3 separate regions of the Homo sapiens genome follow, and all the other regions are linked to region 3. The links are contacts of gene promoters, found by promoter capture Hi-C in blood cells and fetal thymus (Javierre and others, 2016). All regions are on one chromosome and are shown on one strand. Each heading gives the region's core, a stretch centred on a gene start or on the middle of the fragment in contact. The rest is flanking DNA. Distances are from core to core; before and after follow the strand shown. Region 1 overlaps CTNND1 (catenin delta 1). Region 2 has its middle 61 kb from the start of CTNND1. Region 3 holds the start of SLC43A1 (solute carrier family 43 member 1).

Region 1 (2,700 bases), core at 48-2,547, 260 kb before region 3:
ACACTATGAAAAATAAGAAAAAGCCTCATTGAAATGCAAAGGTATTGATTAGGTCTCATGTCATAAAAGAGAAATCCTAAAATTAACTAAGACACCTTATATCCTTCCATACCCTAGACTCGGAAAAAAAAAATATTCATGGAAAAGCTTAACCTTAGAGTTTACTAGGGGTCACCCAACTGTTTGAGCTCACATTCCTTTTTTAAAATAGCAGCTTCTCGGCCAGGTGCGGTTGCTCACGCCTGTAATCCCAGCACTTTGGGAGGCTGAGGCGGGTGGATCACCAGGTCAGGAGTTTGAGACTAGCCTGGTCAACATGGTGAAACGCTGTCTCTGCTGAAAATACAAAAATTAGCCTGGCGTGGTGGCAGATGCCTGTAATCCTAGCTACCCGGGAGGCTGAGGCAGGAGAATCGCTTGAACCCAGGAGGTGGAGGTTGCAGTGAGCAGAGATTGCGCCATTGCACTCCAGCCTGGGCAATAAGAGTGAAACTCCATCTTGAAAAAGAAAGAAAGAAAGAAAATAGCAGCTTCTCACCAAACTTTCAATCTATGGCATTCCCCCACCTCTTTGCCCATCATTTGAAAATAACTTGGAAAAGGTGGAAGCATGTAATTGAGCCAGATTTACACAGTCCCAATTCCTCAAAACCCTGAAAAGACCAATAAGGCATTCTTTTCATCAAGTTTGGAGTATGTCTTCCTTTTGAGATAAGCAACAGGGAGACAGAGCATGTCAATCTATAAATAAATCAATCAGAAGTGTTAAGGTCCTTTCTTGGCTTTAGGACAGATAGCAGGAGGAAATGTTTCTCCTTATCTGAAAGAAGAAAATCCCATCTTGAAGGGGAAGAAAGTTGTGCATTATTGCTCTTCCCCTTGAAGTTATCATATAATCCTTTCAACACCTGCTGAGGTAATGGCCTCTTTTTATAAATAAGTATACTACCTATATACCAGAAGTATTTAGTATCTTGCCCAAGCTCATCAACTAGTAGTAAGTAGTGAAAACTCCTATTTTATTCCAAGTCCATGCTCCTTCTTGATAAAGTGGAAAGAGTATGAATTTTCTATGTTTCCTGGGGTTAAAAGTCATTCTTCGGGCCAGGAGAGGTGGTTCAAGCCTGTAATCCCAGCACTTTGGGAGGCTGAGGCAGGCAGACTGCTTGAGCTCAGGAGTTTGAGACCAGCCTGGGCAAAATGGCAAGACACCATCTCTACAAAAAATACAAAAAATTAGCTGGGGGTGGTGGCATGTGCCTGTAGTTCCAGCTACTCGGGAGGCTGAGGTGGGAGGATCACTTGAGCCTGGTGGTTCCAGGCTGCAGTCAGCCAAGATTGTGCCACTGTACTCCAGCCTCAGTGACAGAGTAAGACCCTGTCTCAAAAAAAAAAAAAAAGTCATTCTAGTTCCAATTAAGAAGTTAACCCAAAGTTGACATTTTTTTTACGGAGAGGGGAAGGAGGCAAGAGAAGGTGGAATGGAGCCAGCTAGACTTTTGGGTCTTATCTTCACTTTAAAGAACAAAACCTTACTCAATTTGGGAAGAGTAGCTTGCAGCCTACTTCAGATTTACCTTCCCTTTTATAAGAACCTAGTACTCAGGAGGAAAGGTGCTAAGAACAAAAGAGGCACTACTCTGTAAAAATTACCTACCTTACCACTGGCAAGCCTGCTCTAGAAAGCTGGCTACATGTCACATTCTCTGATCACCCCCTCAACCCTACCACAAGAAAAAAAATCCAATCCCTACTCTCATTTTTAATGTGACATCTCACTAAGCCAAAAGCAAAGATCAGAGATGGGGTGGGAAACAGAAGGAACTAGAGGCAGTAAAGATTGTGCTAGCCAGCATAAGAACAGAGAAGAAGGATTGTTCTAGTGGTATGTTAGCAATCTGCCTCTAGGGCAGCTGTCCTCCTGGACAATCAAAGGCGGGTTTGTGTGTGTGCTCAGGAACCAGCCAGCTTGGCTCAAAGTTAAGGACTCAGCCATCCAATCCACAAAGTGAGAAAAGATGCCTGTTTCACAGCTGGAATGGAAGGCAGGGAAAACACAAAACAAGAGAGAAAAGAGGGCAGAAAAGAGAGAGGGTATTACAGGTGCTATTTCAGTCTAGACATAGGGAAGAAAAATCCCAGGAAACTACCAACCATTCTCTAGTTATGATCAAACATTAGAGAATTGCTAGTAACTCTTAATACTAAGCGGGTAGGTTTCTCCTGATCTGTATGCAGTAGGGTGCCAATTGGAAGGATGAGATATAAAATGTAAAGGACCTCAGCATTACCTGTTTCCTTCTGTCCCTTTTAAACCCAACAAGGTACCTGCAACATATACAGCAAATGAACATTACTTAACATTTATTTCCTTCTAGAATTCCTTTCTTAATTAAATCCTAGAGATCCACAAAGAATAGCAGCACACACAAAACTCAGTAAGCTTCCCAGTGCTAAGAGATCAGGACCATTTATATAACTTAAGTGCTAAAACGCAAAAGGCCACAGTCAGAATTCACACTCTCTAATCCCTCGGAGTAGCTAGATGCTCCGAGACCCATTAGACACACAAAGGCTGCTCTCTTCTCAGCAGAGCTCTGTAGCAGAGCTGCTCTCCAGGGACAAAGAGATTTCACAGGAGAACCACAAAGACATCGACCCTCTCTGTTCCCCCACTCCCAGCTTTCTCACTTCCTGTCA
Region 2 (2,700 bases), core at 28-2,527, 310 kb before region 3:
AGCTAATTTTTTGTATTTTTAGTAGAGATGGGGTTTCACTGCATTAGCCAGGATGGTCTCGATCTCCTGACCTCGTGATCCGCCCACCTCGGCCTGCCAAAGTGCTGGGATTACAGAAGACTTTGCAATTTCATCAGCAAAATATGAAAGCATTTGTACTGACTGTGTCTTTAAGCCAGGCTGACCAACTCACTTACCAGCCAATTTTTAACTTTGCTTTTATAGAAATTGTCTTGGAGCTATTCCCTTTGTCCCTATTCTTGTTCTTCACTCTGCTCTTTGCTGCACACATCTACTTAACTTGCCACACGCTATACCCAGTGCTGTGATATAAAGGTGGGGGCTTCACCACTACCTACCACCACTGCCCTGCAGGCTCAGCTTGTTCCATCAGATGCAGCACCAGTACTAACCTTGCCCATACTCCTTTTGCTTTCTTCCCTCTCTACTTGTTTGGAAGTTATATGTCCTATATTCATTCTTTAGTGGTTATTCCAGCTAATATGTATTAGGTTGGTGCAAAAGTCATTGCAGTTTTTGCCATTTCAATGCAATTACTTCTGTACCAATCTATTTAGTTTTTCAAGTCTTATCAGTATCTTTACTTTCCTCCTGAAGAACCCGAAAATTAGTGTTGTAATTGCTCCCTCAACTTTACATGCTATTGTTGTCCAGCATTTTAATTCTAGTCTGTATTTCTCTCCCATAAATTACACACTCCTCTTACAGTGAAGGCTTTAGCAATTTCGTTCAGTGTTCCTTCTTGCATCTGATTCTCCATCTGAGATCATTTTCCTTCCACCTCAAGGACATCCTTTTGTAAGTGGAAACTCTGCTTTTGTCGGAAAATGTTTTTAGTAGCTTTTTAAAAAGTGTCACCTCAGGTAAGCTTTCATAATAAGTTCCTTTTTCTCTTAACATGATGAAGATAAATTTCACTGTTTCCTGGCTTTCATTGTTGACACAGAAGTCACCATCTGGCTGGTTTTCTACAGGTAGTCTGTATTTTCTCTCCAGATGCCCACAATCTTTTCTTTGGTTTTCTGCATCTCACCCTGATGTACTAGGTAAGTTGGTTTATCTTGCTTGAGATTCACTGGGCTCCCTAAGTCTGAGGTTTGGTGCCTTTCATCCAACCCTAAAAAATTTCTCTTTGAATATTGCCTCCTCCTATCTCCTGATGTTCCAAATAATGTTTATTAGATCTTATTCCATTGTTGTCTCAACCTCTTGCCTATTTTCCATTCTCTATCTGGAGTGCATTCTGTATAATTTCTTATCTTCCAATTCACAAATCCTCCTTCAATTTGTCTAATCTATTTAATCCATGCATTGACTTCTTACCTCAAATTTGTATTTTTCACTTCTAATTCAAAAAGGTTTTTCCACTAATTCAAAAAGTTCATTAATCGTTATTTCATTATAGTCTGTGCAACAATGCCAACATCTGAAGTATTTAAAAGATCAGCTTCTGTGTCTGTCTTTTCACTCATTGTGCCTTATTTCTTTGTTCAGTTTATAATTTTTGGGCAAGAGCACTCATTTGCCTTGAAAGTATATCTATGGGAATTGTTCTGAGGCCTTAGAGGAATTGCATTTGCTTCTGAAAATCACCTGGAAGCATAAACAAATGAGTACCACTTTAAATTCCCCAGTTAAGCTTTTTGGACCACACAGGTAGCCTAAGTTTGGACTGAAAGCCCATAGAAGGCCATTTGTGGTTATAAATCATCAGGGAAAATATTCTATAGTTTCCATGTGCCACTAAGGTTGAGACAAATGAGTTCCTTGCTGCGCCCTTCTATGGAGTGTTTATTTCTTGTTCACCTTTACACTGAGGGTGTCCAGCTTTATGAGGGAACCTACTAGATTTCTCATTTCCTGTTGCCCATACTTTGTGTAATCACTAAAATAGAAGGTTATGGTCTGCTGAATTTGGCAAAAATTCTGAGGAAAAGCTGGCTTTGGCAGTTACTTCCTAGGATTCCAGCTTTTGCTTCATTTTGAAGAGCCGTAGGTTCCTTACTTTCGTGCCTGCTCAGCAATATGTTTAAAAGTATTTTTTATAAATATATTTACCCAGTATCTTGGTTGCTTCTGCTGAAAGGACTTTTCAGAATTATCTAATCCAGCATACTGCCAAAAACAGAGCCCTGAATTAGTTTCAAATACGCACACCAACGCACTCCCCCTGCCCCGATTCTGCCAACGCGTGAACTGTAAGACCAAAGCTAAGCCTGCCTTTAAGGTGGAAGGAAAAGAAGAATTGAGGTGAGCCAGGCATGGTGGCTCACGCCTGTAATCACTACACTTTGGGAGGCCGAGGCAGGCAGATCACCTGAGGTTGGGAGTTCAAGACCAACCTGACCAACCTGAAGAAACCCCGTCTCTACTACAAATACAAAATTAGCCAGGCGTGGTGGCGCATGCCTGTAATCCCAGCTACTCCAGAGGCTGAGGCAGGAGAATTGCTTGAACCTAAGAGGCGGAGGTTGCAGTGAGCCAAGATTATGCCATTGCACTCCAGCCTGGGCAACAAGAGCGAAACTTCACCTCAAAAAAAAAAAAAAAAAGAATTGAGGTGAAGACAAAAATTGGGTAATTGACTGGAACATCACCACAAATATCCCATATTTCTTTTTCCTCAGGCATAAATGTCTTATGGCACTGTCCATTAGCACTAGAGATACTGGGGGAAAA
Region 3 (2,700 bases), core at 1-2,500:
CCCTTTTATCTGAGGCCTTCTTGGAGCTTTCTGTAGTCATTCTTGTTTTGTTTTTGAGACAGAGTCTTACTCTGTCACCCAGGCTGGAGTGTAGTGGCATGATCTTGGCTCACTGCAGCCTCCATCTCTCCAGCTCAGTGATCCTCCCACTTCAGCCTGCTGGGTAGCTGAGACTGCAGGTGCACACCACCATGCCTGGCTATTTTTTTTTCTTTTTTGTAGAGACGGGGTTTCACCATGTTGTCCAGGTTGGTCTCGAACTCCTGAGCTCAAGCGATCCTCCTGCCTTGGCCTCCCAAAGTTCTGGGATTACAGGCATGAACCACCACACCTGGCCACCAGTATCACTCTTTTTTTAAAAAAATTTTATTTTTATTTTAAGTTCTGGGGTACATGTGCAGAATGTGCAGGTTTGTTACGTAGGTAAATGTATGCCGTGGTGGTTTATTGCACCTATCAACCCATCACCTAGGTATTAAGCTCAGCATGCATTAGCAGCACTCTTAACACACAATTAAACTCACATGTAATGAGATTACTTCTCATTACTCCACACCATAGTAGTCTATTTTACAGATGAGGATACTGAGGCTCAGGGAGGCTGAGAGATTTACCTGGAGTCAATCAATTGTTGATCTGGAAGCATCCGATCACCAGGTCTTCTGAAATAATGACAGCAGCAACAATTAACATTATGCTTACTATGCCAAATGCTATGCTTAGCATTTTACCTGCATCACAATCGCGATTCCTTTGGGCAGTTAGGTAGGTTCCATTTTAACCGAATTTAAAGAGGAGGAAGCTGAGGCTCAGAGAGGTAACTTGCCCTAGGTAACCCAGGGTAGTCAGTTAAAAAGTCAAGACTCAGACCTCGATCTGACTAACTCCAAAGAAACCCGTGCCACTCTGCCTCTCGGAAAACACTGCTTCCAGCTGCACAGTTCAAAACCCCACCCAAGGCGGCCCTGAATCGCGGTCAGTCGGCTTCAGCCGAATCGCACTTTGTTTTGAACAAGGATACAGAGGGCGCTGCCTGATGTTAGTCTGGGGGCTTGGGGGAGAAGATGGGGGTCCAGGGTGGAAATGTAGGTGCTGGGGCTGTGCCAGAGGGAGAGTGTCCGGGACCAGCGGGCGAGTCACGTGCGCGTGAAACTCGACCTAAGGGGAGGGGAAAAGAAGGGAGCCCCCGCCCCCACCTCGGGGCGCAGCTCCGGACGCGTGTAAATACAACTATCAACTCCGCAGATCCACTTCATCCAAGCCCAGCTTCGCAGACCTCTGGCGCCCGGCGGGTTCCCAGTTCCCCCGCTTCTTCCGAGGAGACAGCGGAGGCGAGGCCACCGGGCTGTCAGGCTGAAGCTCCGTGGCCGCCGGGTCCTGCACGCAGAGAAGACCCCAGCGCCGGCGCGGCTCAGGGCTGGGCCCACGGGACTCCGGACGCGCCGCGAAAGCGTTGCGCTCCCGGAGGCGTCCGCAGCTGCTGGCTGCTCATTTGCCGGTGACCGGAGGTGAGCAGCGTGGGCGGGGAGGGGGCGCGCGTAGGGTCTCCGGCTATGCGTCGGCTGAGAGACACCGAGGCCGGCTCCCGCCGACACTGCCAGGCTTCCCAAGGAAAGACCGTTACTTGCGCCCGCGGTCCCGCGGCACAGTGTCCCATCTCGCCAAGCGCGTCCTTCCCTTTTCTTTTCTCTGACCCCTCCGACTCTTCTCTTCCTCCCGGGTCCCCGCTCGCTGCACTTCCTCTGCTTAGAGCTGCGCGTTTGCCAGAGTTCCAGCGGACCTCCTGGAGCGCTTGAACCCAAAGCCCCGTTTCACAGATGAGAATACCGAGTCCCCCTGGAAGAAGTGACTGGTACTTCCTCCCCTCTCTCTGGGTCTTTCTTGCCCTTCTCCTCTCCGCTTTCCTCGGTCTCATCCCAGTTGTCGCTCCCCGCCCCCGCGCCGCCCGCGTTCCCTCTCCTCCCGCCGAGGCTGCAGCGGCCGCGGCGGGGGGAGCTGGGGCTCTTTCCCTCCCTTTGGTAAACACACCCGCCCGCCAGCCCATCCGCCACCGCTGCCCTTATAAAGTCAGCAGCCGCCAGACTTCCTGCCGAAGTCCGAGCCCCCTCCCGGGGCTGGAGGGGGGCAAGCGGGTTCCGAGGTGCAAAGCCTGGTGCCCCGAGCCCTGCGGAGTGAGTGAGGGGCGCGCGGGGGAGGAGGGAACCGAGGAGAGCCCGTCCTGGGTCTCCCTCCACGTGGCAGCTGTTGGCTTGGCCCGAGAGACTGTAGGGTCGTGGGTCACCTGATACGGAAAGGGGGAGGGCTTGCTGTCGCCCGGCCCCAGAGGGAAGGAGAGGTCTTGGAGGGGCAACTGGAAGATGGGGTCGTAGGGTAGCCTTGAACTTGCCCTTCTTCCTGCCAGCTTCTAGGGGTCTTTCCTGGCGCGAGAGTCCGGACATGGGCCCGCGGTGCTTCAGAGCGCGCTCTGCCCCTTGCTGTCCTCTGGGGACCTGGGCAGATGCGGACTTTCTCCCCAGCAGCCCGGCCCTGAGCGCCCTGGCCTGGGTGAGAGAACCCGGCAGCCTGCTAGGAAGCTGCAGCGCGCAGACAGGACCTTCCTTGTTTCCGATAGTGGCTCAGCGGGAGCCCCGTGCCGCGTGCACCTCTGGCACTGCTAGTGCGCGCGGAGCCAGCTCCTTGGCACCGGCTGGGAAGCCCAGG

What was found. Contacts are between HindIII fragments. The CHiCAGO score rates a contact against its expected background, and 5 or more counts as called.
Region 1: a fragment that was not itself captured here is called in contact with the fragment with the promoter of SLC43A1 in region 3 in 1 of 17 cell types (neutrophils); the score reaches 5.5 in neutrophils.
Region 2: a contact is called between a fragment that was not itself captured here and the fragment with the promoter of SLC43A1 in region 3, in 1 of 17 cell types (neutrophils). The highest score is 7.2, in neutrophils.

Annotation. Positions count from the first base shown.
Region 1 is chr11:57,778,757-57,781,456 of GRCh38, reverse strand. All of the region lies in intron 1 of CTNND1 (catenin delta 1), which reads right to left. The region is part of intron 2 of TMX2-CTNND1 (TMX2-CTNND1 readthrough (NMD candidate)); the gene reads right to left. Among named protein-coding and RNA genes, the nearest start is that of CTNND1, 18 kb to the right of the region's middle. RefSeq lists enhancers at 968-1,853, 1,854-2,700 and a silencer at 2,696-2,700. The HindIII fragment of the contact is 2,296 bases long and covers 150-2,445 here.
Region 2 is chr11:57,821,709-57,824,408 of GRCh38, reverse strand. No RefSeq gene overlaps it. Among named protein-coding and RNA genes, the nearest start is that of CTNND1, 61 kb to the right of the region's middle. The HindIII fragment of the contact is 771 bases long and covers 892-1,662 here.
Region 3 is chr11:57,514,252-57,516,951 of GRCh38, reverse strand. It overlaps SLC43A1 (solute carrier family 43 member 1), which reads left to right and starts at 1,250. Exons shown (of 15, transcript NM_003627.6): 1 at 1,250-1,508. RefSeq lists an enhancer at 1,027-1,096. The HindIII fragment of the contact is 5,778 bases long and covers 1-2,700 here.